Linked DNA regions of Homo sapiens: regions 1, 3, 4, 5, 6 and 7 are each linked to region 2. Evidence: promoter capture Hi-C in 16 types of primary human blood cells and fetal thymus (Javierre and others, 2016). All regions are on one chromosome and are shown on one strand. The core of a region is centred on a gene start or on the middle of the fragment in contact, and the rest is flanking DNA. Distances in the headings are between cores, read along the strand shown. Region 1 overlaps LINC02964 (long intergenic non-protein coding RNA 2964). Region 2 holds the start of WASHC5-AS1 (WASHC5 antisense RNA 1). Region 3 overlaps TATDN1 (TatD DNase domain containing 1). Region 4 overlaps LINC02964 (long intergenic non-protein coding RNA 2964). Region 5 overlaps RNF139-DT (RNF139 divergent transcript). Region 6 overlaps RNF139 (ring finger protein 139). Region 7 has its middle 170 kb from the start of LINC02964.

Region 1 (3,512 bases), core at 250-2,749, 610 kb before region 2:
TGTTCTACCCCTCACTATTCCCAGGACATTTGCAAGTTACTTAACCTCTCTGAGTCTCAGATCCCACATATGTGAATTGGAAATATGTAGGCTACCTCTCTTACTGTGTTGTTGGAAGGATTCAGTGAGGTCTGGAATGTAAAGTATATGGTACAGTGCCTAACATGTAGTCATCAATAAAAAACATTAGCAATTATTAATCACACTGATTATACAAGTGACCCAAGTACAAAATGTAATTCTATGTTTTCTTTCTGTTCACAGTCTGGCTACTAAGGAATTAAGTCAAATCTTAATATTTAACCAGTTCCCTCCCTTCCAGGCCAAGGAAATTTATTTTTACTCTTAATCTCAACCACCTGCCATGTTTTACAGAGGAGGTAATTACCCTTAGTGCAAAGGATACTTGTTATAGGAAGACTCTAAGAGTCTCAGAGATGGGTCTAGCTTGTGATGGCTTCAGAATCTCCTCTGGAGCCCTGCCTTGGGCCTTCTTAGTCTTGTCACTGCTGTCTGGTCATCAACAGGTCCAGCATCCAACCAACTAAAGGTAGCCAACAAAGAAAGGCCAAAGGCTAGTTCCCAGTTGCAAGATGACATATACTTCTTTGGTTGTGACTCCAACAGCATCCTTGAGTTGCACAGTGTCTCCTGACCTGGAAGACCATCCCTCCAAATGAGCCCTGGTCATCCAATGTGCTTGAAGAGGCATGTCCTATTATAGGCTGTTATTCTTTTTGAATATTATGGCTGCACTACATGCACATCACTGTTCTGTGCTCATCCCATTAGCACATCCCACAGGTCACCTGCAGTTGGGTGACAGCTCCTGTATACTCCTCCACCTTCTTACTCTAAGTTCCTACATCTCTTGGACTGTGGTCTTTATCTGCCACAGGAATGCACTTGGCCCTCTCTCAGGGCAGACCAGGGAGATAATGCTTCCAACTAATAAAGGACAAGCATTAGTAGATAAATGCCCTAGTGGCCTCAGCCCCAAGTGGACAATTCTGAGATATGTCCCATTCTGTTTCTCAATGGAGTTCTCAGCACAGTTGAGTCTCAGATGAGTGCAGCAGCAGCTACTCAGTCATGCACCCTTTACTGGCGGCCTCCTGCCTTCCTTGACTCCCTTCCTCACTCCCCTACCAGAGCCTCCTAGTATCACCTCCAAATTAACTGCTGGCACCCAAGTCCTTGTCTGGGATCTGCTTTTGGGAAAGCCCAAACCAAAAAAATAAAAATAAAAATAATTCAATAAAAATAGCCTTTCTTTAAAAACGGCATAAATAATTTAACTAATACAACTATATTAAATAGACATTGGCACTGAAATACAATATGGAACAAAACTGACAAGCATGAAACCTCTTGCTTGTAGTGCTCTCTCTCAACAGAGCGTAGTGCTCTCTCTCAACAGAACAACTACCACTGAAATCTTCCAGGACTTTTTCCAATCACACCCCAAACTCCTGCGTTCCCATAATCTCCCAGGTATTGAAGACTTCCACCTTATTCCTGGGTTTTCCAAGGGCTTTATTGCCTGTTAGGGGCCAGGATTACGATGAGACCAATGAAGTCAGGTTGTACAAATCCAAGGCTAGAGCCAGTCTTTATTTAAAAGTTTGACAATTTGTTCATCATCTTTTGGCAGTGATTTTGAATTTTAAATCATTGCTTTAAAATTTAATTTATCTTGATTACTGAGGTTTTCAGCATCCCTTAAATTTAGCACCCAAAGTTAGTGCCTCACTCACCTCATATTATCCCCAGCCATAAATATGAAGTGAGTCCTACAAGAGCCCATAGCCAGCTAGTGTGAAGCTCTCCAAAACCAATTAATTAGACTCCTCAGGGCCAAGATGGAGCTGTTCATTGGTTCATTCAATGTCAACTTACTACTATACTCTTTGATCCTTTTCCTTCCAGCTCCCAAACTTAAAGGCAAAAAATAGATCAGAGTACTCTGTAATTTTTTTCCTGCATGATCCTCAGAAAATATTTGCTTACCTGAGGCAAGGCATGTTCTCAATAACTTATTCAATGAGTGTCCTTCTCATCCTAGATGTACACCTCATCTCCATCAAAAAGGGTGCCCTTTACTTAGCTCTGCAGATGTTACATGTTTAAAACACTGGCTAAGAGGGCTCCAGTAAGCCTATTTTCCACTAAGACTTTTTAAATTTAACTTTGGGAGTTTTGTCCTGAAAAATGTGTAAGTATTTGGAATCTATAAAAACAGTTTTGTTGTTTTGGTTGTTGCTGTTGTTGTTGTTGTTGTTTTAGACGGAGTCTCATTGTTGCCCAGGCTGGAGTGCAGCAGCGCAATCTTTGGTCACTGCAACCTCCACCTCCCAGGTTCAAGTGATTCTCCTGTCTCAGCCTCCTAAGTAGCTGAGACTACAGGCACCTGCCACCACGTCTGGCTAATTTTTTTGTATTTTTAGTAGAGATGGGTTTCATCATGTTGGCCAGGTTGGTTTCGAACTCCTGACCTCAGGTGATCTGCCCGCCTCAGCCTCCCAAAGTGCTAGGATTACAGACATGAGCCACCACGCCCAGCCCAAAGACAATTTTTAAACAAAATTATTTCACCTAATGTGCTGTATCTTGAGTGTTTTTTAAATTTTCACATGTGCCTTATAGTGGATGTATTTTCTTTTTGGTTTTCGATTTTTTTTTTTTTCTATTGCCGTGTAACACATTGCCACAAACGTAGAAGTTTAAAACAACAGTCATTTATTTTCTCACAATTTCTGCGGGTTAGGAGTTTCGCATGGCTTAAGTGGGTTTTCCAATTAGGGTCTCATCTGGCTATGGCTCAAGTATCGGGCAGGCTGCATCCTCATCTGGAAACTTAACTGGGGAAAAATCAACTTCCAAGCTCATTCAGGTTGTTGGCAGAATTCATTTCCTTGTGGCTCTCTTAGTGAGGGTCCTGGCTTTTTTCTGACTGTTGGCTAGAAGCCGTCCTCAGGTCCTAGAGGCCCCCACAGTTCCCCATCATGCAGGCCTCCCCAACATGGTTGCTTGTTTCATCCAGCCCACAAGGAGAGTCTCTGATACAGAATCTGATATAACATAACTCAATCACAAGAGTGACATTCCATCCCCCTTGCCATATTCTGTGGGCTAGGAGCAAGTCACAGTTCCTCAGGCAATCGACAGAAGGAGATTATACAACAGCATGAACACCGGGAGGTAAGGATCATAGAGGCCACCTTGAAGTAGGTGCCACAATAAGAGTCTCTGCCTTAACTTTAGCAACTGTCACATTCTCTGCCAGAATACCCTCATCTCATACCCTCCCATTCCACCACTAGAAGGCACAAATACAGCTCACCACCACCAACTATACAATTTCTTTGCAGTCACATATTTTTACCTTAGAAATTCTTGTGACATTTGCATTTGCATTTATTCTATAATGTATCCCAACATGTTTTTATATAAGAATTTATTTAATATTTACTGGTCAGATAGTTTAACTCTTCATGTCTTCAAATGGAAAC
Region 2 (3,559 bases), core at 198-2,697:
CAGCTTATTAAAGCTTGAAGTGCGTGAGTACCAAAAATAGAAAATGTCACTAACAAAGATTCATTGTGCAGTAAACGAGAGCAAGTTATATTAAACTGACTTTATTTCTATTTCCAGTTCTAGATTGATATTTTCAAGAGGATCCTTGACACAGAGTATACTACACATAGAAAATTAAGCAAAGAATTATATGGGCCAGATACAGGGTTTCAGGGACATTTTTATGTGGCCTGAAAGAACCTACTATTTTCTTGGATTTGCTGCATTCTAATTTTTAAATAATGCTACTCTATAAATTCAAACACTTCCTATTTATAAATAGCATTTTTGGATTGACGTTTTTCACATAAATAGAGTAATAGTCTTGTATGAATAGTGGTCAAAAATAATACATCTGAGGTCATTTAATACTTTTGACCATTACAAGCTCCATTTAGCTAAGTAACTTTTGCTCATTCTTAGAGAAGGCCACCCTCCTTTTCTTTTTTTTTTGAGACAGTCTCACTCTGTCGCCTGGGCTGGAGTGCAGTGGCACAATCTTGGCTCACTGCAACCTCTACCTCCTGGGTTCAAGTGTTTCTCATACCTCAGCCTTCCAAGTATCTGGGATTACAGGTGTCCACCACCATACCCAGCTAATTTTTTTATTTTTAGTAGAAACAGAGTTTTACCATTTTGGCCAGGCTTGGTCTCGAACTCCTAGCCTCAAGCGATCAGCCTGCCTCGGCCTCCCAAAGTGCTGGGATTGCAGGCGTGAGCCCCTGTCTTTTCCTTAACTCTTCTCTGCCCCCAGCAACTCAGAGGAAATGCATTTATTTCCACCTTATTGCTGCTTGCATTATAATACTGTCTTCCCTCCTCTCCCCACCTCCCTCACTCCCCTTTGCCAGTCTTTTAGGAATACTTTGTCCGAGTAGAAAAGAAGACATTTATAGGCAGAAAAAGTTAGAGTGTGCTGTTGACCTTATGATGCAGACAACATTATGAGGGCAAACTGAACTCTCAAGCCTGACCCAAAGATCGCTTCCTATCATCCAACCATTGCAGATAATCTCCAAGTATCATTTATGCTCATAGCTACTTTTAAAGTACTGTAGTTAATACACCATCCTAGCATAACTCTATATCACAGATTTGTTCTTTGAATGGTTAATTATATTTCATTACAACTGGCTTCCACTGTTACCCTCTATGTTTTATTTTGTACATTCAAAAACGTTATTCTGAAATGGTGTCCATAGGCTTCACCAGATTCCCAAAGGGGTCCAAGGCTATATTAGTCAATTCTCACATAATAAAGACATACTCAAGACTGGGTAATTTATAAAGGAAAGAGGTTCGATTGACTCACAGTTCAGCATGGCTGTGGAGGCCTCAGGAAACTTACAACCATGGTGGAAGTGGAAGCAAACATGTCCTTCTTCACATGGCAACAGGAAAGAGAAATATAATCAAAAGGAGAAAAGCCTCTTATAAAACCATCAGATCTCGTGAGAACTCATCCACTATTACGAGAACAGTATGGAGGTAACCACCCCCATAATTCAATTACCTCCCACTGGGTCCCTCCCATGACACATGGGGATTATGGGAACTACAATTCAAGATGAAATTTGGGTGGGGGCACAGCCAAACCATATCAGACACACAAAAAAAATTAAGAACCCTGGATTAAGGGGCTATCATTGTTAAAATTTTCGTGAAAGATTTTATGTAGATTATTTTGTAATCCAGATAATTATAGAACCTATAATCCTGAGTGGCATGGACAGACTTAATATTCACCCAATTTGAGAATACTAGTGTGAAATGGCATTCCTAGAGCTTGAGAAAGTTCCATTTAGGATAAATAAAAGGAAGTAAGTAAGACTTCTCACAGCAGCTACTAAATTTGGAGCACTTATTCCAAAAGGTTAAAAATATAGCTTCAAAAAAGACATCTTTGATACATGAACAACTGAACATTAATAGATCACTTTGTGAATCATAGACTTTGGGGTATTTTTAGGTTGGGGTATGGGAATCCATCCAGACATTCCTTGAAGGGCCTCTGGTGCTTCATTAGATCCAGTGCTGGTCTTAGCCAAGAGATCAGTTCAGGAAATCCTTATTTTTTTTCCTGTAGAGTGATGTGAAGGCCCAGTGAAGAATTGTCATCTTTGTGTTTACCTCCTCACTGTCACTCTGAAATGCTTGAATGCACTACCTGTTCTTTCTCTTGCTTGTGCACAGGTTGGGCAGATGCAGATTCTGAGACAACAGATTGCCAATGAATTAAATTATTCTTGTCGGTTTGATTCTAAACATCTGGCAGCTGCTCTGGAGAATCTCAATAAGTAAGTGCCAGGGTTTGAAACAGCCATCCGTGGGCTTGGATTGTTTATTATCTACGCACCCCAGTTTCTTCAGTTCTTACTCTTTTAAGTTATTTTTGGGTGGAAGGTCTGAATTTACAGGCTTCCTTGCCACGGATAATCAAATCTGTCTTCGGAGCCTCTTTCCTCAGTATTGTCCCTCCGTTTATCTCTGTCTCTCACTCACTCTCTCTAATGGATTCGTGTATTCAGCAGACAGGTACTGATCACATGATTCAATACATGTCTGCTGAACAAATGAATTCATTAGAGAGAGCGAGTGAGAGACACACCAGACACTGCTAGATACTTGCACAGATTTTAGAAAGCAATTATTACCAAAATCCGCAACTGGCTTTTTACAGGGCTGATCACTCATCATCCAGAGGGCAGTTGGAAGTGTGTTGATTACCAAGAGTGGTTATGGAGGCCTGTCCTAGAGGGAACTCATATCCTCCGCCTCACCAGCAACCTGCTGTCATTTGAGGCTGCCTACTTACAGATAAATAATCTGTGCTTCTCACTCACCAAGTCAGTGCTTTTGACAAAGCAGGTATTAAGAACAGTTCAGTCAATACATGAAAATTTGAATGGTGAATGCATTTGATTGAGGTTGATTCCAAAAGATGAAGTAATTCTAGGTCAAATTTTCCACTTAAAACCAATCACAGGCATGGTTGAGAATTAGCGAGATCAAGCTCTCATTTTACAGATGAGGAAACTGAGGCTTGAAAAGATTACATCACTGCCCTATATTAACTCTTGTATAAATTCATTTACTCACTAATGTTTATCTCCAGGGTTTTTCTTCCTTTAGGGCTCTCCTAGCAGACATTGAAGCCCACTATCAGGACCCTTCACTTCCTTACCCCAAAGAAGATAACACACTTTTATATGAAATCACAGCCTATCTGGAGGCAGCTGGCATTCACAACCCACTGAATAAGGTGAGTAATTAAAATATATAATGGCGGGGATGGGGGTACAGAATGGTATTTGGCCCAGGTAACAGATTACTGTGCAGAAATACCAGAGGAACCTGGGTTCAGACCCCAGAGCCTTCATTCCATTCAGTTCCCTGCCCTTTCTAAGCAATCATCACACTTTCCCCGCCTGGCTCAGGTCTGTGAGAATCAAGTGCTATAGCGCTGGTGAAAGCTCATGACAAAGGGGAAGGTGCTGCCTCCGTGTAAGAGATTAGTTTT
Region 3 (3,568 bases), core at 406-2,905, 530 kb after region 2:
GATTTACAACTGCCTTTGGTGTCACTTCATCCCTTTGTGCATCCCCTTTAAAATGGGGAGATTGCTGCCTACCTTTCTTAACATAAGGCACATAAAGCCCATAGTGACATGAGTCATGCAGAGTATGTGCACAATCATGGCTGTTGTTACATTCCTCATACTAGAAATAATTACCACCCTAAAGGAAGATGCTAGCTATTGTTTTTGTTTGGAACTTTTAAAAGTTTTTTTTTTTAATACTTTTTTCTTGTTTTAGTACCTAGACCTTTTCTGGAAAAAGTATTTTTTAAAGACTAAGAAAGAGAAGCAAAGAGTGAAAACAAGGAAAGGCCTGATCTACTTATGGAAAGTTTATCCTTTAAGCCATACCCTGTATTTTCAATTTCCTGGCCTTATGCTACACTCCTTTCCTTGTTGCAATTTAGAGCTCTGTTCTCTTGGGTAGGAGGAATTTGCTTTGGGCATTTTTCTTGGGGCTTTAAAATGTTAACACTGTGCAGGTCTTAAAAACTACAACAAGAAGATTTTAAAACAATCCTTTGGGGATTTAGGGGACCCTAGAGATGAGCAATTGAGGCCATGTTGCCATCAAGCAGCTTACAGAGGAGGGATTACTACTTGTGTTGAGGTATACCCATGAAACTCACTGGGCTTTTTGGATTTGCCTTGATCCTAATTAATAACAACTGCTCCTGAAGCTGAACTTTTCCAGCTCTTGTCGTTAGATAGTTAAACCTCAACTGTAAGAAGCAGTAATAAAATCAGAAGCTTCACTAAGATGAGCAAATAACTCAAGTGGAAAATTATTTTCATTTATGAACTTTAAAAAAATAATAAGTGAGTAAAACAGGCAGAGAAGTCTCTTAATAGATGCCAATTCCTACCCTGTAACTTATACAGTTATTTCTAGTTACCATGGCGGGTTTTTCTTCTCTAAAGATAATAGTCGTTTGATGTTCAGTACTAGTTATCCTCAATTTGTATCATTAGGAATAATTTTTTTTACCACATGGCTTCTTTATGATACGTAGCTAGCATGACTTCAGGGACCTTTCTTTTCTTGAATTATGTAAAATTCTGTGGGCCCATTGCTTGGGCTTCTGTTATTTTCTTTTTCTTTTTTCTTTGAGACAGGGTCTCACTCTGTCATCCAAGCTGGAGTGCAGTGGTGTGATCATGGCTCACCGCAGCCTTGACCTCGCCAGGCTCAAGCAATCCTCCCACCTCAGCCTCCCAAGAACTGAGACTGTAGGCATATGCTACCACACCTGGCTAATTCTTGTATTTTTTGTAGAGATGGGGTTTCACCATGTTGCCCAGGTTGGTCTCGAACTCCTGAGCTCAAGCAATCCACCCACCTCAGCCTCCCAAAGTGCTGGGATTACAGGCCTGAACCACACACCCAGCTGGCCTCTGTTATTTTCATAAACTGTACTTTTGCCTACATTCCTATAGGAAGCTAATTTTCCATCCGACCATTAGATACTGTGAATTTGTAGCTTGGTCATGTGGTTTGGTCCATGGAATTGTGTGTGGAAAAAATAACCAGTACAGCGTGGAGCAGTGCACACAATGAAGAGTACCGCCTGCTGTGTGTAGTCAGAGCCAAATATATTAGTAAAGTTGACATAATGACTAGTGCACACTTAACTGCTGACATTTGGTTTACTTTAGAGGTTATGGAAATAGTGACTGGTTATATTATCAAAATCTCTTTTTGTCCAAGTTGTCGTTAATATTTCCTACACTGCAAAATTTCAGCACTTTGTTAATGAAAGGAAAATATTTTTGCTTATTCTAACCCAGCAGAATCTGAAAAGGAGATTTTAAAACCCAAACATTTGGTAATACAGACATAGACGACCTATTTTAGGAAGACTATTTCTATTTTTTTAATTTTTAATTTTTTTTTTTTTTTTTGAGACAGAATGTTGCTCTCTCACCCAGGCTGGAGTGCAGTGGTACAATCTCAGCTCACTGCAACCTCTGACCCTGGGTTCAAGAGATTCTCATGCCTGCCGAATAGCTGGGATTACAGGCATGTGCCAACATGCCGGCTAATTTTTGTATATTTAGTAGAGACGAGGTTTCACCATGCTGGCCAGGCTGGTCTTGAACTCCTGCCCTTGAGTGATCCACCCGCCTTGGCCTCCCAAAGTGCTGGCATTACAGGTGTGAGCCACCACGCCCGGCCTGAAGACTGCTTCTTAAGAAGTACATTTCTATTTCTAATTTTAAAATTTAGCATTTTCAAGAGAGCAAAGGGGGTAAAATAGTCCTGCACATCAGGAAATATGATATAGAAAAATATAGCAAGAGAGGCTTAAGTTAAACAGAGAAATTGTTTCCCCAAATTAAAGTGCTTAGAAGAGGTAAGCACATTTAAGAAAATAATAAGCCACCTGTTATCCTGATTCAGTTGAACCTACCATTTGTGAGAACAAGGGGGAGCACTGTGTTGAAGTGAAAAGACAAACAGAATGAACATTCGTTGTATCCTCTGAATATTGTCATTATACTCCGGGACCAGAAGGAAGCTTCTTGAAAACGTAACAGGTTTTTGTCGTTTAGGCTGGGACTTGGAATTAGAGCAGTGAAGTTCTGTTCCAAGTTGGCCATGCCAGGTATTGTTATCTTGGACAAAGTACTACACCTCTCTGACACCAGCTTTTATACTCAGGTTATTTTGAGGATCAAATGAGACAATGGTATCTGGTACTTGGAAAAACCTTCTTATCAAGTACTCTTTAAGATATTCAGGGCTACCACTTTATCATGTAATTTTCTTTTTTTAATAGCATAATTGAGTTATTTGCTGTTTAGCAAATACTTAGATTTCATTTTTGAGGGAAACCTTGTTCATTTTGCCCAGTGGCAATAACTTCTTTTATAACAGCACATAAAAAACTGGTTGCAAAATGGAATAGATTAGCATGCAGTATGAAGCTCTCCTGGGCTTCTCGCTTGGTGAGTTGACTCCCACTGATGGTGCTCCCAGTGGCAAGGGGCCAGTGGTGTTACTTTCTGAAAATTAAAGGGCCCAGATAATTTTGTAAGCCCAGAAAATGAAGTATTTCTTTCCAGAAGTTGTAAGTTATAAAAGCCCTTTGATAAGCCTGATGTGCTTTAAATATTCATGATTTTTGTCCTGTAATTTCTAGAGAATTAAATACCTTTAATTTAAAAGCTCTTTTGACATCATTACCTTCCTCATGCTAAAATACAATTTGTAATGAGAATTTTTTTTTTTTGCATTATGCAGATATTTTGAAAAACAGTTTGAACTGTCAGAACAAACAAAATTACCAATGTTTCTTCATTGTCGAAACTCACATGCTGAATTTTTGGGTGAGTTAAAACCAAAGTCTCATTCAGAACTTAAGAATTTTGTAGAAATCAAGCTATTTGCTAAAAGTTCTTTGTTTTTAATTCACAGACATAATGAAAAGAAATAGAGATCGGTGTGTAGGGGGAGTGGTAAGTATAAAATAGTCATTTTTAATACAGGTTGAACATCTCTAATCCAAAAATCCAAAATACTCCCAAGTACAAAATGCTCCAAAATCTG
Region 4 (3,445 bases), core at 631-3,130, 600 kb before region 2:
TGAGTCATTTTTTCAAAAATAACAAAACCTCTCGACATCACTTGATTTCGGCATTCTCACAGGCTCTTGTAACCTCTTTTGCAATTGCATTCCAAGCACGCCTGACTTCTTTCTCAGGCCTGATGGTAAGTCCCTCTCCCAGGAGAAGGGCTTTACTAATAGAAACCAAGCCTAAGATCTACAGGTTCTGGTCCACAATGCAGTTAGGTTTCAGGTGATGGAAGGGAAATGACTGGAGGCTAAAAGGGCAGTGGGTGAAAGAGGCATAAAATCAGAGAGACTGGCCTGGCTTCCGACCCACAGAACCCACTGGACTTTGACAACCGCCCTGCCACCTTGCCTTTCATATGCTAATGAGGACCGGCTAATAATCCCAAAAGTGATTTGCTCAACGTATCACAGTTTTACGAAGCACATTTCACTTCCATCACCTCATTGTATGGTGAGAGCATTCAAAGCTCCCAGAAGGTTGAAGAGGTTGAATGTCTCGCCCAAGCCCTTGCACTTGGTGATGATAGTCCTAGGTTATTGACCCACGCCCTTTACCAGTGGTATCTTATTTACTCTTTATTCATCAATGCTGATAGGTGGGTTATCATTCTCCTTTGTCTAGATAAGAAAACGGAAGTTCAGAGAGGTTAAGAAACTTGTTCAAGGTTACACAGCGAGTGGTAGAGCTGGAATCAAAACCCAGGTGTCCGGCCTCAAAGCCTGTGTCTTTTCCAATACACCACATGCAAATACTGATCTCAAAGAACTTTGCACATTACTCCAGTTGCACTGTGTGTAATTAACACTTTATGTACCTGTGTCTTAAAGCAAGGAAAATGGTTTATTTCTCTCTATACCCTCAGCCTACAGCTTATTAACTGACATATACACATGCAACCATTGTTGGATGAAATTAGTGATGGACTTCAACCCTGGCCCTCAGACTACAGACCTCTAGGCCTGGCCTCTGCACACACCGCTGCTCCCACTCTGAAGTCCCTGGAGCCTGTGATACCCAATAAGCCCCCAGATCTCAACCTGACTCCTATACTTACTGGCCTTGGTAAAGACACCTCACCTCTCTAGGTTCCAGATTTTCTTATCCGTGTACATATTGGACAGGACATATTCAGGGGGCCCTCTAGGCTCTCACAGTTGATGGTTCTGGAAGTGTGTTAAGTTTTCTCAAGAGAACGGACCCTAGCACATTTGTTGGTTGAATTCTGTTTGTTGACAAAAAGGGTGGAGCAAAAGTCATTAACAAAGTTCACAACATTGGCCCAATGATACTCTTTGCATTTACTTTTGTCTCTATAAGATCCTTGCACAAAAGGAGAAGTGAAAGATTACAAGTCTTAATTTTGGATGCACAAAACTGTGTGTGAATAAAATATATACATATAGACTCAATGTAATTATTATTTTTGCTCCTCCTTGAATATCCATGCCAGATGTCACTTTCCTACAACTCCCACTGTCTCCCTGTCACCCCCAGCCCCAGGCAGGGTCTGTGACCCTCCACCATGCTTACCTAGGGGCACTCATCATTTCCCCATTGAAACTGCTAGGTCATTTACCTATATCCCAGGAGACTGTCAACCCATGCTTCTTTATTTCCCACCAGACTCTGTGTCTGGTGGTTCTCTATATCTCCAGCACTTCCCAGAATGCAACTCGGAGATGCCATGGAAGAAATAGTTGATGATGACACCAATTCACTAATACCATGCTTTTGCAGAATCCTTTGCTCTTCTTAGGGCACGTTCACATGATAACTCTGCAAAGTGAGTGGTGTTTGTCTCCTCATGCCCATTTTACAGATGAAGGAGTGAAGATAGAATGCTGACCGACTTCTCCAACACTATATAACCATGAAGCAGAAATGCCCACACTCCAATTATAAAACCAATGAGATTTAGTGGAGACCTTAAAGGTCACCTAAAACAAAACTCTTCGAACCTGCTTTTACCAAAAAAAATTTTTTATATATATAAAAAGTTATATGTTTTGTATATTTATATATAATATAAATATATAATATATAAATATATATTACATAATATATATTTTTATAAATTTGTGTGTGTGTGTGTATACATATATATATAGAGAGAGAGAGAGAGAGAGAGAGAAGAGAGAGATATTTTCTTCTCTCCCCGGTGGAATCTTACTCAAAATCACAATTTAAAAGGTGGGGGAAGGACCTGCTCTTGAGAAAGGAAAAATGGAAAAACTAAACATCCATCAGATGAGTCCCTCAACCTACCCTCAGGAGGAAGGGAGAGAGTTCCTGCAGCCCAGCCACCTGCAGCTTCATGACCACCATTGGAGAGCCACTGATTCGAACAGACATTCTAGAACTCTTACGTCGGCATTCTCATCGGCGTTCCTTCAGCTGTCGCATGCCACCTCTCTGCAGTTGCTTTCCTCATTCAAAAACTTTCTTGGCCACCACCGTGTGCTTAATGCTGTCAATCATACCAAATATATTGGGTCTGGGGTCCAATGATCCACTTTGATCCCCATTTCCACTGTTTCCTGGCTAGGGACTTTGGGAAAGTCACTTAATCTCTCCTTAATCCGTGGCTGCTTCATCTGCAAAATGTCCCGAAGGCTTGGATTAAATCAAAATCAGTTGCTGCATGCACATCAACATGCTGCACATGGATCTCAGCACCTGCACATGCTCCCCAAGCACTGACTGCATCCGCTCTTTCAGGGCTTTCCAAAGTGTGGTACATACACCACTGGAAGGACATGAAGTTATCATTCTCCCTTATCTAAATGGGAAAACCAAAGTTCAGAGAGGTTAAGAAACTTATCCAAGGTTACACAGTGAGTGGCAGAGCTGGAATCAAAACCCAAGTGTCCAGCCTCAAAGCCTGTGTCTTTTCCAACACACCACATGCAAATACTGATCTCAAGGCACTTTACACATTACTCCAGTTGCACTGTGTGTAATTAACACTTTATGTATCTGTATCCTTACATTTCTTTAGGATGCACACAGTTTTTTATTTTCATAATCACATATTTATATTTACAGTAACTTGTTGTTACTCACAAGGGAGTTGGGCTTACATTTACAACAGAGAAGTTTCTGTTAAATATAGAGAGGGTGTGGGTGGTCTTGCTCTGTCACTCTGGCTGGAGTGCAGTTGTGTGATCATGGTTCACTGCAGCCTCCACTTCCTGGGGCCAAGTGATCCTCCCACCTCATCCTCCTTGAGTAGCTGGGACCACAGGTGTGCACCACCATGCCTGGCTAATGTTTTAAATTTTTTGTTCAGATGGGGGTCTTCCTATGTTGCCCAGACTGATCTCGAACTCCTGAGCCCAAGCAATCCTCCCACCTCAGCCTCCCAAAGTGCTGGGATTATAGGCATGAGCCACCATGCCAAGCCAAAGATATGTATTTAAGAATGAAAATGTGGGTTGACTTCAATTATCTGGG
Region 5 (3,593 bases), core at 706-3,205, 570 kb after region 2:
CCATTCTTGCATTGCTATAAGTACCTGAGGCTGAGTAATTTATAAGAAAAGAAGTTTAATTGGCTCACGGTTCTACAGGCTGTACAGGAAACCTAGTGCCTGCATCTGCTTCTGGGGAGGCCTCAGGAAGCTTTTGCTCATGGTGGAAGGTGAAGTAGGATCAGGCACTTCACATGGCAAAAACAGGAGCGAGGGGGTGGGGATAGGTGTCACACACTTTTAAACAATCAGATCTCATGAGAACTCACTATGGTGAGGACAACACCAAGCCATCAGGGATCAGTCCCCATGACCCAAACACCACCAGGCCCTACCTCTAACTGGGAATTACATCTCAACATGAGATTTGCAGGGGAGATCCAAATTACATCACCATCCAATTGGTCAAGCTTATTGGATCATGTATCTGCACCCTAGCTTCTGTAGTGGGAGGAGGCAGTAGGAAACATGCACTTGGATTTAACCCCTTCACTCCCCACTTCTACTAATATGTATTTTCTTCAAGTGGAAGATAGGGATACTGGTAGGAAGGGTAGTGTCCTAGTCTGTATTCTGTGGTTTATAACAGAATGCCTGAAACTGGGTAATTTATAAAGAAAAGGAATTCATTTCTGGCAGTTAGGGAGGAGGCTGAGAATTTCAAGGTGGAGGGACCACATCTGGGGAGAATCTTGTTGCTGGTGGGGACTGCAGGGATCAGGGGGGCTGAGCATGCCCACTCAGGCCTTTCTTCCTCTTTTTATGAAGCCACCAGTCCCAGGCCAGGCACGGTGGCTCACGCCTGTAATCCCAGCACTTTGGGAGGCCGAGGTGGGTGGATCACCTAAGGTCAGGAGTTTGAGACAAGCCTGGCCAACGTGGTGAAACCCCATCTCTACTAAAAATACAAAAAATTAGCCTGGCGTGGTGGGAGGCTGAGGCAGGAGAATCGCTTGAACCAGGGAGGCAGAGGTTGCAGTAAGCCGAGATCACACCACTGCACTCCAGCCTGGGCAACAGAGCAAGAGTCTGTCTCAAAAAAAAAAAAAAAAAAAAAAAGCCACCAATCCCACTCTTATAGTAACCCATTAATCTATCAACCCATTAGTCCATGAATGGATCACCAGCCCTCATGACCCAATCACTTCTTAAAGGCCCCACCTTTCAGTACTGCCATATTGGGGATTAAGTTTCCAATGCATGCAATTTGGGGGACACATTCCAACCAAAGCAAGTAGGATTGATGGTGAAAATATATGCCATAACTTTTTCTCAGACCCTGGGAATTACTGCAATTGATCTCTTATCCTAAATTACTTTATGGTTTTTCTCTTCTCATTAAAGTAAATTCAGATGTGCCCATCAAAATTCTATTTGAATTTTCTGGTTTTGTAGATGCCAAATAAATAGTAAGAGTTTGTTTTTGCTACTTCTACACTGCTGTGTATGTAGAAGTGGGAATGTAAACTAGTACAACCACTATGGAAAACAGTGTGGAGACTCCTTAAAGAACTAAAACTAGAATTACCATTTGATCCAGGATTCCCACTACTGGGTTATCTACCCAGAGGAAAAGAAGTCATTACATGAAAAAGATACTTGGACATGCATGTTTATAGCAGCACACTTCGTAATTGCAAAAATGTGGAACCAACCCAAATGCCTATCAATCAATGAGTGGATAAAGAAACTGTGGTATAAATATATGACAGAATACTACTCAGCCATAAAAAGGAATGAATTAATGGCATTCGCAGCGACCTGAATGAGATAGGAGACTATTATTCTAGGTGAAGTAACTCAGGAATGGAAAACCAAATATCATATGTTCTCATAAGTGGGAGCTAAGCTATGAAAATGCAAAGGCATAAGAATGACATGATAGAATTTGGGGACTCGGGGAAAGGGTGGGAAGAGGGTAAGGGATAAAAGACTACAAATTGGGTTCAGTGTATACTGCTTGGGTGATGGGTAGACCAAAATCTCACAAATCACCACTAAAGAACTTACCTGTGAAACCAAATACTACCTGTTCCCCAAAAACCTATGGAAATAAAAAATATTTTAAGTTTGTTGCATAAGTTAAAGGAAACAACAGAGAATATAGTGGTATTTGAAGTAAATGTTGAGTATATACTGACTGTGGTTTGTTCATTCAGCAGACATTTACTGAATACTTTCTATGTGCTTGGCAGTATGCTAGCCCTCTTCTGCCTCTTTCTAGTTCTGTGTCTTGAGGCAAAGTATTTAAGCTGTCTAATCTTTAGTATCATTTGGGGAAAAGAATATTGCCACATAAGATATGAAATACATGACATGCACTATCCAATTTAGCCCTCACCAAACTTGTCCAAGGACACAGAACTAATCAGTCAATAGTAGTGGCAGAGCCAGGTTTCTGATTCATATTTTTCTGATTCCAGAGCCTAAGATCTGATCCTCTGCAAGTATGTTCTCTTGCTTTTTTACAAGAATTAAAGCAATACATCTTAAATACCTAGTATAGCATGTAGTAAACCAATTGTAGGAGATACACTCATTGGAACCCCTGTTACTACACACAGCACTTTGCAGTGCACAGCACTTTGCAGTGACTCCATTTATGACTCAGGAGTGCTGTGAAGATATTAGTTCGAATTATTGTATGAAATAAGTAGGACTTAATTTACATTAGAATATGAGTGAATGATAAAATATGTTCATCTTCGGTGACGGTCAAGCATAATCTGAGGACTGAGATACTGCTGAGAGGAAGAATACAGGTAATACTTAAGTTGAAAACATCTGTCAAAGCAGAGAGCCCAGAGAAGATGGCTATAGTATCCCACTGATGGGAAGTATAGGACCTTTCACCTTAGGTGGGATCCTGTAATCCGGGTTTCTGATAATTGCTTCTCATTTCACAGTTACACCCAACTGGATATAATAAAACTTCAAGATGGAAGATTCAGTATTGTAAAGATGTTGACCTATATATTCTATGTAATCTCAATTAAAAAAAAATCTCAGCAGGTTCTTTTTTCCAAAAATCAAAAAGCCAATTTTAAAATTCCTAAGAAACTGGAAAAGGTCAAGAATACCTAAGGCAGTCTTAAAAAACAAAGTTGAAGGATTTATACTGTGAGACATCAGGACCTATTCTAAGCTATAGTAATGAAGACGAGATAGTATTGGTGCATGGATAGAAAAACTGACCCATGGAACAGAACAGAACAGAAAGTCTAGAAAAACTCCACACATATAGGGTCACTTGATTCATTAGAAAAGTGACACTAGAGTGCAGTGGGAAACATGATAAGCCAACAATATAATAGGACTCTGGATACTGCTTAACAAAGGACAGCATATCACTTAATGGTGAAACATGCTGGAAGCATTCTCCCTAAAGTTAAGAGTAAGAAGGTTGCTCACTGTCACCATTACTATTTATCATTGTATTAAGAGGTGGGGGCTGGGAATAAGGCAAGTTAAAATGCTTCCCTGTTTACCAAGATTTAGCTGTTTTTCTCAAATAGAGGCACCTCAGATTATTTCAAGCTTTTAGTTACTTTCTAGAGTTCTGAAAAAGTTGACTGACCATTTTTGCCTGTGTTCTCATTGCTTTTATAGAGAAG
Region 6 (3,575 bases), core at 996-3,495, 550 kb after region 2:
CCCTGCCCTCCTGGAGCACATAAGCAGACAGAGTCCAAGATAGTAGTGCTGTTATACAAGTAGGAATCTATGACCAGGACCATAGGGCACATCAACTGTCTGCTTTGAGGGGAAACAGGAGAGAGTTATACCAAGGTGACATTTCAGTTGTTTACCCATGACTGGGAGTTAGGCCAGAGAAAGACAAACAAACACCTTAAGCAAAGGCAGACTGCAGAAGGGCCTGGCTAATCCAGAGGAACAAGTGTGGCAGAAAGTAGGATGCACAGTGTAAGCAGAAGTCAAGTCTGGGAAGGTAGAGTGAGCCCAGATTGTGAGGGCTCTTATATGCCAGCATTTTGCTTAGATTTTATCACTACCCAAAGGATTTTAAGCAGGAGAGTGGCAATTATTTTTTTTAAAGCTATAACTTGTATCAGTATGGGGAAGGGCTGGAAAGGAGATAGGGTAGGAATCATGTAGATCTTGCAAGACTTTAAAAACCTTTGCCTGGCTGGGCACAGTGGCTCACACCTGTAATCCTACCATTTTGGGAGGCCGAGGCAGGCAGATCAGTTGAGGTCAGGAGTTCAAAACCAGCCTGGCCAACGTGGAGAAACCCTGTCTCTACTAAAAATACAAAAAAATAGCCGGGCATGGTGGTGGGCGCCTGTAATCCCAGCTACTTGGGAGGCTGAGGCAGGAGAATCACTTGAATCTGAGAGGCAGAGGTTGTAGTGAGCCAAGATCACACCACTGTGTGATCACACACAGTGAGCCAAGATCACACCACTGCACTCCAGCTTGGGCCACAGTGTAAGACTCTCTCAAAAAAAAAAAACAAAAACCTGTGCTTACTGTAAAAGTGCCACATTAAACAAAAGCCACTAAATTCTCAGGGACATTAAACAACTTTATATTCATTTTGGAATAACTGCAGCTTTGACCACTGAAGATGTATGGAAATAGCATGGCTTGGCTACAGAAGGGTTATTCGAAGAAAGATTTCCATAAACTGCATTATCAAACAGTAAAATAGGATGTCCTAAGCTCCAATAGATTTTTTTTTCTTTTTTCTTTTTTTTGGAGAGAGAGTCTCGCTCTGTTGCCCAGGCTGGAGCGCAGTGGCACAATCTCAGCTCACTGCAACCTCCACCTCCCAGGTTCAAGCAATTCTCCTGCCTCAGCCTCCCGAGTAGCTGGGACTACAGGCGTCCACCACCATGCCTGGCTAATTTTTTTTGTTTTACTAGAAATAGGGTTTCACCATATTGCCCACACTGGTCTCGAACTCTTGAGTTCAATCTGCCTGCCTCAGCCTCCCAAAGTGCTGTGATTACAGGCATGAGCCACTGGGCCCAGCCCAATAGATTTCTTATAAGCGATTTCAATAAAATGAATTTGCTATGCAATATAATCTTAGCAAAGCTGCTGTGACCTTCAAAACTGTGTCATCAGCAGCATTAATCAAGAGTTCCAATTCTGAGAAGTGCATACAGAGGGACATTCAGTAGTTTCCTAAGAAAAATGGATTTTCACTGTCTTAATTTAAATGTTAATAGATTTGCTTTTAGTGTATCTTGACTGTCAGATAAAATTTTAGTGTAGTGTTTGCTTAGTATAAACATCAAGCAAGGCTTTTGTGTCACATTACAAAACAATTTTTTAAATTCCCATTAATCTTAGATCTCCATCCTTAATTCCTTTAGGTGTTAACATTTAAGATACTAAGGGAACAAAAAGCTTAGGCAAAGAATATTTAAATGTTCAATTTGGACTTTGGAACTTTCTAATTCATGTATTAAAAATCTTCCACTTATATATAATAAGTATGGAGACACTACGGATCATCATTACTGTAAGCACAGAAACTGAAAGATGCGGCCAGGCGCGGTGGCTCACACCTGTAATCCCAGCACTTTGGGAGGCCCAGGTGGGGTGGATCACAAGGTCAGGAGTTCAAGACCACGGCCAGCCAACATAGTGAAACCCCGTCTCTACTAAAAATACAAAAATTAGCTGGGTGTGATGGCAGGTGCCTGTAATCCCAGCTACTCAGGAGGCTGAGGCAGGAGAATCACTTGAACCCAGGCGGCAGAGGTTGCAGTGAGCCGAGATCGTGCCACTGCACTCCAGCCTGAGCAACAGAGTAAGACGCCGTCTCAAAAAAGAAAGAAAAAAGAAAAAAAAAAGAAAGGAAAGAAAAAGAAAGGAAAGGAAGGGAGGGAAGGGAAGGAAGAGAGAGACAGAGAAAGAAAGAAACTGAAGGATGGACACCTGGGCTTATTTCTCTCGCAAGGGTAGAGGTACAGAAAGCCCTCGCCCTCAATAACCACACATTTTTCCAAGTAAATATTACTTTTGCAGCAACCTAATACCTTCATTTGCTGTCTCTCAAGGACTAGTTCTCTAGCAGTAGATTTCCAACTGTGGCTGCTGTCCCACAGTACAAATTACGTTGTGACTTAGGACACACATACATAATAAAACCTAACAAAAAATGGAACAGTACTTACCCTTATTGAGTACAATGTACTTGTCAATGTTTAAAATGCTCATCATGACCCACTAATGAACATGCTATGACTCACAATTGAAAAGGACTCTTCATTTCCACTCAGTTAATGCTATAATTGGTGAACATAATACAGATGGCTGCTTTAATAATTTACTTGAACCTGGTTCTTAGCTCTAGTTATATGCAAGACAGTCCATAAATCTGTTTCCAGTTACTGGCAGTAAGTTTTTCTATTGATATTGCTGAAAAACTTAATAACTGTTAAGCTTTATTATATTAAAGGTGTGCCAATATTTTCCTTTGTGTGGAAAAATATTATATAGCTTTAGAACTAAATGTATACTTGGAGATTTAACCATTTTTGTTTTTGTTTTGTTTTAGTCAAATATTGGAGATAATGTCAGCAGTGAGAGATGAGGATCCACTGGAATTAGCCAATACACTATATAACAATACTATTAAAGTATTTTTTCCTGGAATATAATTGGTATATGTCTTCCACTTTCCATCATGTATGTAAAATTTCATAGTAAAACTTCCTGATAGTTTCAATAAAGAAATTATCTGCAAGTTGTCTAAAGAAATACTATATATCGGTACACACCATTCCCCACCATTCCCCTTCTTTTTCTCGTAAAATCAGATCAGGATGTTTTTATATCATTGAGTATCTTAGTTTAAAACAATTTAAAAAAAACTATTTTTGTTTTGTAATATCTTCAAAAGAATGAAAGGACAATTTTATGACAATACTGCAGACACAGAATGGCTAACAAATATACAATTTTACATAAAAAACATTTAGCACATTCTGGTTTATATCAAAGTTTAGTTGATACAGTTTATTTGTCAACCCTCAGTCTCTCTCTGAATCAGGACTTTCAAACTCAGCTCAATTACACTGCTACTCAAGTTTCAAAAAAGGTCCTCAGTTGCTTCTGGCAGCTAATTTTTTCTTTAGTTTTAAAATACTCTCTCATGTCCTTTATCCTCTGGTCAAATTATTTTATTTCCTTGACTTTAATGTGGTTTCCTGATTTGCATTTTCATTCTCCCACCCATTTCTAAAGAAAAACTG
Region 7 (3,424 bases), core at 578-3,077, 650 kb before region 2:
GCGCTAACTCTGAATGCCTGGCCTCAGAGGGCTGGTACAATGGAAAGTGCTCGGCTGATGAACGCTACATGCCCAGGTCTGACTCTTGGCCCCACCACTTGCCAAGTCACTTACCCTCTTTCACCTTCAGTTTCCTTGTCTGTAAAATGGGCCTAAGCACACCTTCCTCAATGTGAGGATTAGGATAAGGCCTGTGTCTAGCAATCTAAAGAGTAGCTCTCTGTCCCTTCTCTTCTGCCTTTCCCTGACATGAGGCCAAAAGAGTGATAACCCAGTGGAACACCCAACCAATCAGCAGTTGTCGTTGTTGTTGTTTGTCTTATGCCCAGATAGGGATTGGGGGTTGGGAAACAGGTGTGTCACAGCTTCATGATATGGAAATGCCCTGAGGCCTTTGTTTATAAATACAGATCCTTGGACTGCACCCACAGAGAGCCCATAGATCTGGATTTTTAACCAGCTTCTAGAGAATAGTGGCCCCGGTGGTCACCAGGCCACCCGCTAGGGCGCACTGCCCTTCAGTCATTGATTCCAACATCACAATATCCACCATATCTTCAAACCATCTCATTATTTTTAACTCAGATTTTATACATCATTTTTATTCCAATCAACATGCTTTTGTAACTTTAAATAATCTGTTTTTAAATATCCTTTATACCAGTACCACAAATGCAAATATATTGAAAGGAAATATGACAGGCTGTTTAACAGGAACATGGGCCCTGGAGCCAAAATTGTCTGATAGAAACCCCATCTCCACTGTTTGCCAGCTATGTAAATTTAGACAGTTTGTAAGACTCCTTAAAGTTTCTGTGTGTCAACATCCCCATGTGTACAAAGGGGATAATAAGAATATCTAAAGATAAGGCTGTTGTGATGATTAAATGCTTTGCTGTAAAGCACTTACAACAGTACCCAGGACAAAGTAAGCCCTCAGTAAATGTGAGATATTCTTTTTTTTTTTTTTTGAGATGGAGTCTCATTCTGTCACCCACGCTGGAGAGCAGTGGCGCGATCTCGGCTCACTGCAACCTCCACCTACTGAGTTCAAGCAATTCTCCTGCCTCAGCCTCCCAAATAGCTGGGACTGCAGGTGTGCACCACCATGCCCAGCTAATTGTTGTATTTTTAGTAGAGATAGTGTTTCACCGTGTTGGCCAGGATGGTCTCGATCTCTTGACCTCATGATCCATCTGCCTCGGCCTCCCAAAGTGCTGGGATTACAGGCGTGAGCCACCACACCCAGCCCAAATGTCAGTTATTCTTGTTGTGACAAATAATTAAATAAATAAATAAATAAATAGTATCACTTGCTACAGATAGAAAATAACCACCAAAAAATGCATAACTGTGAAAAGTTATTAAAAGTTCATCCACGCACCATCAAAGGCATCTGTGTGTCATCAGTAGTATACATTCCACACTCAGGCAAACACTGTTGCAGAAAGTGCCAAGAAACTCTACCAAGTGGTGCTGTCACCGGGCAAACTAACTTGGGAGTTACTCTGGTGTTGCTTTAGACTTAATTCTGAGGTTTCCATTAACCTGAGAGCTGCATGTGTCCAGGGAAAATTCCCTTTGGAATCCACTGTTTTGGTTCATCCAAAAGCAGCTGGAAAACATCTGTGCCCAGGGATTAGGAACTGATTCCTCCTCTGTGGGAAAGAAAGCAGTCTCTCAAAGCGAGCTGCTCAGCAACAGGCTCATTAGCACTTTGTACTTCTTGAGGTTTGTTTATCTACAGATCTCAACATGCCTCAAAACATTCATTAATGCTCACAACACCCGGTCAGCCCAGAATCACAGTCCCCATTCTGCAGATGGGAAAATTGATAGAAAGGGCTATTAAGTGACTGCACTCTTAAGTGACTGAGCCATTAAGGCACTGTTGAGCAAAAGAAGAGTTGTGGCAAGAAGAAAAGTGATGACTCCTGAGGATCCGGGCCTGCAGTACCACCCCACTAATCAAGCATTCGCCCTGGGATGGAGACACGCAGATGGCAGGAGGCCACACGGTTCCCTTTATTGTTCCCATGACAGTGTGGGAACAGGATGGCATCTTTGGAGAGAATTCCAGAAGTGCCAGGCACTGGGCATTTCATACATTTTTACTGGATGAATATGTGGAGGGAATTTTCACGAAGGAGTCCAATTTCTCCTTCCCATCCAATTTCCCACAAGAGGAGTGAAGATAATTCCAGCAGGACCTAGAGCTAAGCCAGATTTGGTTGGGAAATTTATAGCCCAGAATAACAAACAGGTGCGTAGATAGTGTCAGGAAAGGAGGCCAAGAACATGAAGGCATCGCATCCAGGGAGTAAGATGAAGAATAGAACCAGAAAGCAGGACCATAGCTTGAAGCTATGGAAGAGGTTTAAAACAAGTTGTGAAGATGAGATGTATAAAGAATCTTCGAAATGTTCATTTCTTTTAACTCAAAAAAAAAAAAGTTAAGGAATCTCTTCAAAGCAAATATTAGGAAAATTATATAAAGGTTCCTATACAGTTGTATAAAAATATCTGTAAATATATTGTTTTAAAAGTGTAATCCAGGGCCAGGCGCAGTGGCTCACGCCTGTAATCCCAGCACTTTGGGAGGCTGAGGTGGACAGATCACAAGGTCAGGAGTTTGAGACCAGCCTGGCCAACATAGTGAAACCCTGTCTCTACTAAAAATACAAAAATTAGCTAGGCATGGTGGCACACACCTGTAATCCCAGCTACTCAGGAGACTGAGGCAGGAGACTCGCTTGAACCCAGGAGGCGGAGGTTGTGGTGAGCCGAAATGGTGCCACTGCACTCCAGCCTGGGCAACAGAGCAAGACTCCATCTCAACAACAACAACAAAAAAAGTGTAATCTATACTAACAAAAATTAGAAATAGGCCGGCTACAGTGACTCATGCCTATAATTGAGGATTTTGGGAGGCAAAGGCAGAAGGATCACTTGAGCCCAGGAGTTTGAGACCAGCCTGGACAATAAAGTAAGAATTTGTCTCTACCGAAAAATGCAAAAAAAAAAAAAAAAAAAAAAAAAAAAAATATATATATATATATATATATATATATATATATATATATAAAATCTAAATATTCAGAATTAGGGATCGATTTAAAGAGGTTATGTTACGCCAATACTACAAAACCATTAAAAATATTTTTAAGAAAATTTAATTATATAAACAAGATCATAATAAACAAGTGAAACTTCAGGATACAAAATAATTAACGCAATCATAAAGATACCAGTATTTTATACTTAAAGAAAAACTGGAAGAACATAGCATTAAAGTATGTAAATAATTTGGTTGGTGGAATTGTGTGCTTTAAATGCATATATATGTATTTACTAAAATGTCAACAATAAGCATGTATTATTGTAATTTAAAATATTAATTGTTTAAACTTTTACTGTGAATATT

What was found. The method cuts DNA at HindIII sites, captures the fragments that hold promoters and counts their contacts. A CHiCAGO score of 5 or more calls a contact.
Region 1: a fragment that was not itself captured here is called in contact with the fragment with the promoter of WASHC5-AS1 in region 2 in 1 of 17 cell types (neutrophils); the score reaches 6.3 in neutrophils.
Region 3: a contact is called between a fragment that was not itself captured here and the fragment with the promoter of WASHC5-AS1 in region 2, in 10 of 17 cell types (M1 macrophages, erythroblasts, M2 macrophages and 7 more). The highest score is 15.8, in M1 macrophages.
Region 4: a contact is called between a fragment that was not itself captured here and the fragment with the promoter of WASHC5-AS1 in region 2, in 1 of 17 cell types (neutrophils). The highest score is 5.4, in neutrophils.
Region 5: a contact is called between a fragment that was not itself captured here and the fragment with the promoter of WASHC5-AS1 in region 2, in 1 of 17 cell types (monocytes). The highest score is 5.7, in monocytes.
Region 6: a fragment that was not itself captured here is called in contact with the fragment with the promoter of WASHC5-AS1 in region 2 in 7 of 17 cell types (erythroblasts, M1 macrophages, M2 macrophages and 4 more); the score reaches 10.5 in erythroblasts.
Region 7: a fragment that was not itself captured here is called in contact with the fragment with the promoter of WASHC5-AS1 in region 2 in 1 of 17 cell types (neutrophils); the score reaches 7.9 in neutrophils.

What each region holds. Positions count from the first base shown.
Region 1 is chr8:125,651,756-125,655,267 of GRCh38, reverse strand. The region is part of intron 6 of LINC02964 (long intergenic non-protein coding RNA 2964); the gene reads right to left. Among named protein-coding and RNA genes, the nearest start is that of LINC02964, 130 kb to the right of the region's middle. RefSeq lists an enhancer at 1-167. The HindIII fragment of the contact is 4,038 bases long and covers 1-3,512 here.
Region 2 is chr8:125,038,572-125,042,130 of GRCh38, reverse strand. It overlaps WASHC5-AS1 (WASHC5 antisense RNA 1), which reads right to left and starts at 1,447. Exons shown (of 2, transcript NR_170219.1): 1 at 1,352-1,447. WASHC5 (WASH complex subunit 5) reads left to right here. Exons shown (of 29, transcript NM_014846.4): 24 at 2,233-2,336; 25 at 3,172-3,301. The HindIII fragment of the contact is 6,314 bases long and covers 16-3,559 here.
Region 3 is chr8:124,508,383-124,511,950 of GRCh38, reverse strand. It overlaps TATDN1 (TatD DNase domain containing 1), which reads left to right. Exons shown (of 12, transcript NM_032026.4): 7 at 3,263-3,348; 8 at 3,437-3,477. It overlaps MIR6844 (microRNA 6844), which reads left to right and starts at 3,375; the gene lies at 3,375-3,436. The HindIII fragment of the contact is 1,769 bases long and covers 771-2,539 here.
Region 4 is chr8:125,634,218-125,637,662 of GRCh38, reverse strand. All of the region lies in intron 5 of LINC02964 (long intergenic non-protein coding RNA 2964), which reads right to left. Among named protein-coding and RNA genes, the nearest start is that of LINC02964, 120 kb to the right of the region's middle. RefSeq lists an enhancer at 795-904. The HindIII fragment of the contact is 7,632 bases long and covers 1-3,445 here.
Region 5 is chr8:124,467,654-124,471,246 of GRCh38, reverse strand. It overlaps RNF139-DT (RNF139 divergent transcript), which reads left to right. Exons shown (of 2, transcript NR_108047.1): 2 at 3,589-3,593. Among named protein-coding and RNA genes, the nearest start is that of RNF139-DT, 5.1 kb to the left of the region's middle. The HindIII fragment of the contact is 3,127 bases long and covers 392-3,518 here.
Region 6 is chr8:124,488,000-124,491,574 of GRCh38, reverse strand. It overlaps RNF139 (ring finger protein 139), which reads right to left. Exons shown (of 2, transcript NM_007218.4): 2 at 2,957-3,575. TATDN1 (TatD DNase domain containing 1) reads left to right here. Exons shown (of 12, transcript NM_032026.4): 12 at 2,879-3,077. The coding sequence ends at 2,981. Among named protein-coding and RNA genes, the nearest start is that of RNF139, 15 kb to the right of the region's middle. The HindIII fragment of the contact is 1,041 bases long and covers 1,725-2,765 here.
Region 7 is chr8:125,690,076-125,693,499 of GRCh38, reverse strand. No RefSeq gene overlaps it. Among named protein-coding and RNA genes, the nearest start is that of LINC02964, 170 kb to the right of the region's middle. The HindIII fragment of the contact is 6,595 bases long and covers 1-3,424 here.